2 separate regions of the Homo sapiens genome follow, and region 1 is linked to region 2. The links are contacts of gene promoters, found by promoter capture Hi-C in blood cells and fetal thymus (Javierre and others, 2016). All regions are on one chromosome and are shown on one strand. Each heading gives the region's core, a stretch centred on a gene start or on the middle of the fragment in contact. The rest is flanking DNA. Distances are from core to core; before and after follow the strand shown.

What was found. The method cuts DNA at HindIII sites, captures the fragments that hold promoters and counts their contacts. A CHiCAGO score of 5 or more calls a contact.
Region 1: a contact is called between a fragment that was not itself captured here and the fragment with the promoter of WDR17 in region 2, in 2 of 17 cell types (total B cells and naive B cells). The highest score is 7.9, in total B cells.

The regions. Positions count from the first base shown.
Region 1 is chr4:175,951,083-175,954,961 of GRCh38, forward strand. The region is part of intron 2 of LOC107984113 (a long non-coding RNA gene); the gene reads right to left. It also overlaps a transcript of GPM6A not described here. Among named protein-coding and RNA genes, the nearest start is that of WDR17, 110 kb to the right of the region's middle. The HindIII fragment of the contact is 3,267 bases long and covers 58-3,324 here.
Region 2 is chr4:176,064,108-176,067,618 of GRCh38, forward strand. WDR17 (WD repeat domain 17) reads left to right here and starts at 1,734. Exons shown (of 29, transcript NM_181265.4): 1 at 1,734-1,972. RefSeq lists a silencer at 1,610-1,989. The HindIII fragment of the contact is 5,440 bases long and covers 588-3,511 here.

The DNA of each region.
Region 1 (3,879 bases), core at 441-2,940, 110 kb before region 2:
TCTCTGCAACCTAGAAATTACTACTCTTAAATACAACACGTCGATAAATAATTGGAAAGCTTCATCTATCATCCTGCCTACTGAACTCCCCATGGAATGAAAAACGTCACCTTCTCAAGATGCTTATCTGCCCAACTGACCCTGTAACAAGCCATTTTTCTTTATAAATAGTATTTCATGTGAAAATACTACTTTTAGTAGGAAAAATGGGTGGAAGAACCATACATTATGATTTTTTAAATCTGTGGATATAGAAGTGAAGATGGAGATAAAACAGTAAAAATAGATATTGATTCCCATGATGTCCATATGATTAGGCCATGAACAGACAGAAAAGGAAAGAGAGAGGATAGAGTTGGACAAGCACTGGCCTATAAGTCCGAAATTTCTGGATTCCATCCTCATTACCTCTGACGGCGAAATAATCTCTTGAGGCTTCAGTGTCCTTAACTAAAAATGAGGGGAATACCATCTACCTTGAAAGGCTGTTGAAGCAATGAGGCTTTAGGCATTTAAAGCAACTAGAATACGCACAGTTAATAAGTAATAGCTAATAAGAAATATGAATGAATTGCAACAATTTTCTGAAAAAATATCTGGATTTATCCCAGAATTATATAGCTTTATACAAGTCAAGGCTTCTTCACATTTATATTACCTGGGTAGTTAATGGTATTGGTTAATGCGGAGCGTGTTTGTGAATGAGATAAGACTTAAACTGGTAAACTTTTCATAAGCAGATTGCCCTGCATAATGAGGTGGGCCCCATTCAATCACTTGAAGGCCTGAATAGAAAAAAAAAGACCAGCTTCTCTGAACAAGAGGGAATTCTCCAGCAGTCTACCTTCCAACTTTCCCTACACCATCGGCTCTCCTGGGCTTGCAGCCTGCTGGCAGCCATGCTGCAGACTTTGGACTCACCAGCCTCCATAATCATGTGAGTCAATTCCTTATGATAAATCTCCTTCCACACAGACACACATTCTGCTGATTCTCTTTCTCTGCAGAACCATGACTAATACAGTGATATTACAAGGCCCAGGTGACCAAATATCTCAGAGACAAGTAACTAAAACAAATACCTCAGAGACAAGTAACTAAACTTTCCTTTTCAAGAGTCAAAAATCTGTTTGACTCTTGAGAGTCTTTGACTTTTGAGAACATTCTTTTATGTTTGAAATATTCAAGTTAAGATACTATATTCCTTAAGAAGCTAGGAGAAGTTCGTTTCTATGTACACTTCAAAGCTAGATGTCCAAGGAGTCTAGTGGAGTTCTAAGCTGCATAATGGATTCCCATGATGGATTGTAGCTTAAGGTAGTGATCTCAGAATGGATGTCCCCAAAGCAATGGAATTAACATATTATTCAGTTATTTTCCCAGTTGCCCATTGTAACAAGGAGCGGAGGCTACAGTACCTCCACCTTCTTAGGGTAAGGATTGTTGTAAGAAAAAATTTTAAATTCTTCCATTTAAGCAACATGTAACTAGGAATATTAGAAAGCATTAATCCATTCACTCATTCCAGAGATATTTTTGTGTACATCTTTCCTGAAAATTTTTGTAATACATTTTGTCCCAGAGCCCACAAAATCATATAATAAAATAGATAATGAGCCATCCTGTCCACCAATGAGTCCAGTCCTGGTGTATTACAATGCCCAAAGAAAGCAGAAATCCGGTGGGGGCATGGGAACTTGGGCCTGTAATCTCAGCACTTTGGGAGGCTGAGATGGGAGGATCCCTTGAGCCCCACAGTTCAAGACCAGCCTGAGCAACATGGCAAAACCCCATTTCCACTAAAAATATAAAAATTTGCTAGGCATGGTGGCGCATGACTGTGGTCCTGACTACTTGGGATTGCTTGACCCCAGTGGGTAGAGGCTGCAGTGAGCCAAGATCACACTACTGCTCTCCAGTGTGGGCGACAGAACAAGACCCTGTTTTTAAAAAAAAAAAAAAAAGGAGAGAAAAAGAAAAGAAAAACAGAAATCCCCTTGCCTTAAAAGTTAAATAATGGGAATGTTCTACTTTGATTCAAGAATAGAGCATGCATGCATTCTACATATCTAAAATCCTAAATTTTATAAAACAAATAAAGAAATCAAAGGGCAGGGAAATTTTATTCTATATCAAACTGTTCCAAGAATTTGATAGTTTTTGAAGCTGAAAAACCTATAAATACACTGTGTTGGAACCTCGGCTGTATCATGACAATTTTCCACAGAGAAGTAGTCTAAGGGAAAGTAATTTGTGTAATAGATGTGAAAATGACTCCGGAAATAGCATTTGCAGACCTAAACTGTATCCATTTTAAGATATGTAGTACAAAGAATTAGGAAGAATGCACTTTCTAACCACAAAAAGAGTAGCCAATTGCCTGTAAAGCAGTGTATGGCAGGGATTTAATTGATATTTGCATGTCATTATTTTTAGTTAATATAGTATTATTGCTTTGTTTATTATGACACATTACACAACTTTGAGTTCTGCAGGACACATGGCAGACTTATAATGTATATAAAAACTACCATGGAGGTCGGGCGCAGTGGCTCACACCTGCAATTCCAGCACTTTGGGAGGCCGAGGTGGGCGGATCACCTAAGGTCGGGATCGAGACCAGCCTGACCAACATGGAGAAACCCCGTCTCTACTAAAAATACAAAATTAGTCAGGCATGGTGGCACATGCCTGTAGTCCCAGCTACTTCGGAGGCTGTGGCAGGAGAATTGCTTGAACCCGGGAGGTGGGGGTTGTGATGAGCCGAGATCGTGCCATTGCACTCCAGCCTGGGCAACAAGAGCAAAACTCCATATCAAAAAATAAAATAAAATAAAATAACTACCATGGGAACTATTAAAATTGAGTTAGAAATGTTAACCCAGTTGGTTTAAAAAACATCTTTTTTTTACAGTCCTGAGAAATGCTGACAGCACTGATCACTGGGTGATAGAAATTTGTTCAATTACATGTCCTTAGCTTTTCTTCCTGGCCCGCTCTATACCTTGACTTTTCCTAGAGGGCAGTATAGTCTAGGGCTGAGCTGTCTGAGAAGGTAGACACTAGTCACATGTGGCTATTTCAATTTGAATAAACTAAAATTAGATGAAATGTAAATGCCTTTGCTCAGTTGTGCTGTTCACAATCCAGGTGCTCAACAGTCACTTGTGGCTAAGGCTCTGGTATTGTACAACAGAGATCTAGAACGTTTTCATCATCTCCATGAGTTCTACTGGACAGCACAGCTCTAGTGGCTAAGGGTGTGGCCCCCGTGGCTAGGTTGTATCAGTGCGAAACCCGGCTCAAGCACTTTAGAACTGTGTAAGCTTAAATGAGTTTCCTTGTCTTTCTGTGCCCCAGTTTCCTCACCTGAAAAATGAAAACACTATTAGAGTTTTAATTAAAATGTGTAGAGTACTGAGGACAGTGGCTAGCAAATAATATATACCACACTGAGTTTTGTCTATCATTTTTCCACCCGAAGAGTCAAGCCAAAGCAAAAGTCTTAAGAGGTCTAAAGAGGAGTGAATCTGAGATGATGAGTTAGACCATCTCTGGAGAGACAATGGAAGTCATCATTTCTGTTTTCCTTTCAGTGAGGTTGCACCCGTGTCTTAGCCTTTGTAGTCCAGCTACATCCCTTTCACAGGGCCTCATATCTGTCTTTTCCATGGGTCTTAAACATGATTTGGACTTGGAGTATTTTCTACATATCTAGGGCAAGAGTAGAACTTTACCCTGGCTGCCTGATGGCAAACAGCCAAACCTTGTAGTAATGGAACAAAAGAGAGATAGCCAGGGACTACAGTAAATTAACAGCAGTGCTGAGAAGGTACTACAGGCGCTGTGAGGGCCTAATAATACTTAAGTCAAAGGACC
Region 2 (3,511 bases), core at 484-2,983:
TTTTCTCTTCATGTACACCATTGACTATTCAGCACTATACCTAGCAAATATCAGTCATAAATGAAAACTATAGTCTGTTTTCACAGAAATGTTTCTTGTGATTTTCCCTCTTCGCTATTCTTATTTTCATTGTCTTAACTCAGGTCATCAGCATCTTTTCCCATGAACTACTGAATTTTTCTCCTAACAGACCATGTTCTTCATCTTCCTGCATCCCATGTATCTCCAATGTTTCCAAGGTGTCTTTCTTGATGAAAAAGCACTGATTTTATAAACTTCAATCTCTTCCTTTGGTTTAGAGGTTAAAGCCTAACCCATATATAGAATTCTGCATCTTTCCCAATCAAGTTTTCTTATTTTTCTAGTACAGTCTTTTGCCAATTTCCATCTTCCTTCTTATCTTTGGATTCACATCCCCAACTCCGGAGAAGGCAAAAACATCAAATTTATTTACATCAATCGTTTATTTTTTCCCACTTTATGCTTTTGGCAATGCTGCTCCTGCTGCATAGTATACACTTTCCCCTTTTTATCAGGTGAAATTCTACCTATTTATAAGTCCCTGCTCAAATACTAATCATATTGAAAGCTTCTCTGAATACCTTGGAAGAAAAAGTTCTGCCTCCCTCATCTGAAATCATCTCATAGCACTTTTATGTAACCCTATTTTAGTACTTAACACATTGAGTTATATTTAGTTATTGCCCTTATACTTTCTCTGGTAGATTATGTGCTAATTTCTTTCTTTCTTTATCCATCTATCCATCAAGAATTAATTGAAGACCTGCTATTCATCAGATACTTTGTTAGAATATAGGGGACGGAGTTGTAAGAACTGATTTTAGCTTTAACAAGTTTATTCTTTATATGGAAATCCAACATTTAAGTTAATTTTAATTTACAATATAGAATATTGAGTGCTGTGGTAGGTACTCGTCTCTGCAGAGAATATTTTGGAAAAAAGGAGCATTAAAATCTACTGCATAGGAAGGTAAGAATTAGGCCCAGGGACTTTCTCTGGTTGAGGTCGACCATTCATTTATTAACTATTTAGAGTGGAGTATAATTAATTCTCGATAGATGTCATTAAATACACTTTGTTTCGAGTACGTCGAGGCTTATTCTCTCTAGTGTGTTGGATAAAGGCCACAGGTAGTGAAGATATTTCAGAGATGTGAAGAATCCAGTAGGAATGACAACATCCAGCACTTCCATTCAACCAGATCCCACAGGGAAAATGTCAGTTTTGTGAAGGCAGATACATTAACCACATACAACTCGATTAATATAAACAAATAATCTTATCCATTGAGCTCTCCCACAGACCTTCTTGGGCCCAATCAGACAATAATGAAGTGCAGGCGAGACAGCATTCTGCACTCACATTCCAGGCACTGGTTCAAGTCCCTCCTCCAGGTCCCTCAAGAAAGAGACAGGATGACTGACTTACTGTATATTTGACTCATTTTCCTAGAAAGTGCAGACTCGCTATAAAATGTGTTAGGTGGTGAGAACGCTGATGGTTCACCGTTTTCCTCCACTTTCAGCCTCAGTGCAAACCCTCTGCCCAAAGCCTCGCTCCAGTACGGAGGAGCTGCGCCTTCAACACACTTTCTCTGTTGCCAGGTAACCACTTCTCCCTCAGCCTAGTCTCCAAGGGTCACGAGCCACTTCCGCCTCCCCCTCTCGGGCGCTCCAATCAGCGACCTGTGTAGCTGTCACGTGGGCCTCTGGGGCAGACCCTGGAGATCGGGCTCGCGGCGCCTTCCATCGTGGCTCCGCGCTGGGGCTTGCGGAGCACGCTTCCCGCCCCTCGGAGCCCGCGGGCCCGGCCGCCCCGCCCCCGGGCGCCCTGAGCGAGCAGGCGGGGAGGGCGGGGAGGGTCCGCGCGTTGGTGGTGCTCGCCTCGCAGCTGCGCCCGCCGGCTTCAGCACCTTCCGCTGTCCGCCGCTGCAGCCGCCTCCTCCTCCAGGTAAGAAGCCGGTGGGGCCGCAGAGATACCAAGGCAAGCTCAGGATTGATGTGGGTGATGCTGGAACTGTCGCGGCGTCATGCGAGAGGGGCTCTGACCTCCCTGTGATCGCGGACCAGGGTAATGTACGTCCTGCAGGGCTTTGCACACCATGGTGCCTGATGAGATAATCAACTGAGTTTTAGAGCCACACACCTGATTCTTACAAGGCACAGCAAGCAGCGAATATTTATGTATCTAAACTACCATTGCAGTGTAAACTGTGGACATTTCGAGGGACATTGTTTTATTTTTATGGCTATTAAGTATATGTCTAGAGCCTAGGTTGCTGTTCTCATCCCTCCGCCGGCCAGACACTTCTGTATAGATCATTTACCCCTTTGAAGATGGACTTATTAGTAGGGTTGTACTAAGAAAGGTTTGAGTAAAAAGGAAATGCGTTCCAGAAAAAAGACGGTATTGGATATAAGGCAGGTATACTATTTATTAAGTAGATCGTAAAATAGAATCTTTGCTGTCCTCCCCTCTCCAAAATCAGACTTGTTTTGCTTGCAAAGATTGAAAGGAACAAACAATTTAAGGAGACTTTTTAAATATATTAATTAAAAGCAATTGATTCGAATGAAAAGTAATGAAAAGTCCGACCATGCATCAAAAATAAATTATTTTGCATATTAATATATACATATATACTATATATATTTAACAAGGGTTTGAAGAGAGATACTACATTTCTGAATCTTTCATAAATACCCTTTAGAGAAAACTATCAAAAAAACACAAGTTCGTTGTAAAAGGATACGAAACGGCCAAAGCCCAACAATGTGAGATTATAGTTGCCGTTCTTAGCACTCTAATAACATTTCTGCGTTGTAAAAATTAGAAAATAAATGACAATGAATTTATGAGAATTTATAAATTTGAACTCCACAAGAGTTTAAGCATTAATTTATTTGTAGATTTATGCCTTATCATTACCCTGCTTGCCAGGAGCTGATGCTGGGCGGGTGGTGAAACAAACTCTGTGGAGAAAGCACTCTTACATCCTTTTGAGATTCTGCCTCACTGGCCTAAGTGTTCAAGAAAATGGATATAGTTATATCTAACTGTTTTGAAGGCAGACGTCTGAGATAGGTGGTCTGAGAACCTTTCCCCTCCTATCATCTAAAATTAAATATAGTTATTAAGTGCTTTTGAAAAGTTGTCAATTCGTTAATATTTTGGGAAACATCCTTTACTGGATTGTTTGGAGATTAATGTTACAAATGGTAGCTTTAGAGTTCCTGGGAAGTTTTAAAGCAATGACTTATTTCAAAGGGCATATACGGAAAGTAAAGCTCTTGAGTTCTGCAAACGTAATTATGTAAAAATAACTAGTTGAATGTTATTGTTTACATTGTTCTGACTTTCTCTTGTGTTGATATTAATAGAACTGCTTAAAAAACTGTGGACATCTGAAGAAGACGTTAAATATGCTTACTTGAAAGTTTTAACATTCTTTATTCTTCTTATTTCTAATGATAAATAGTGGTGTTCTAA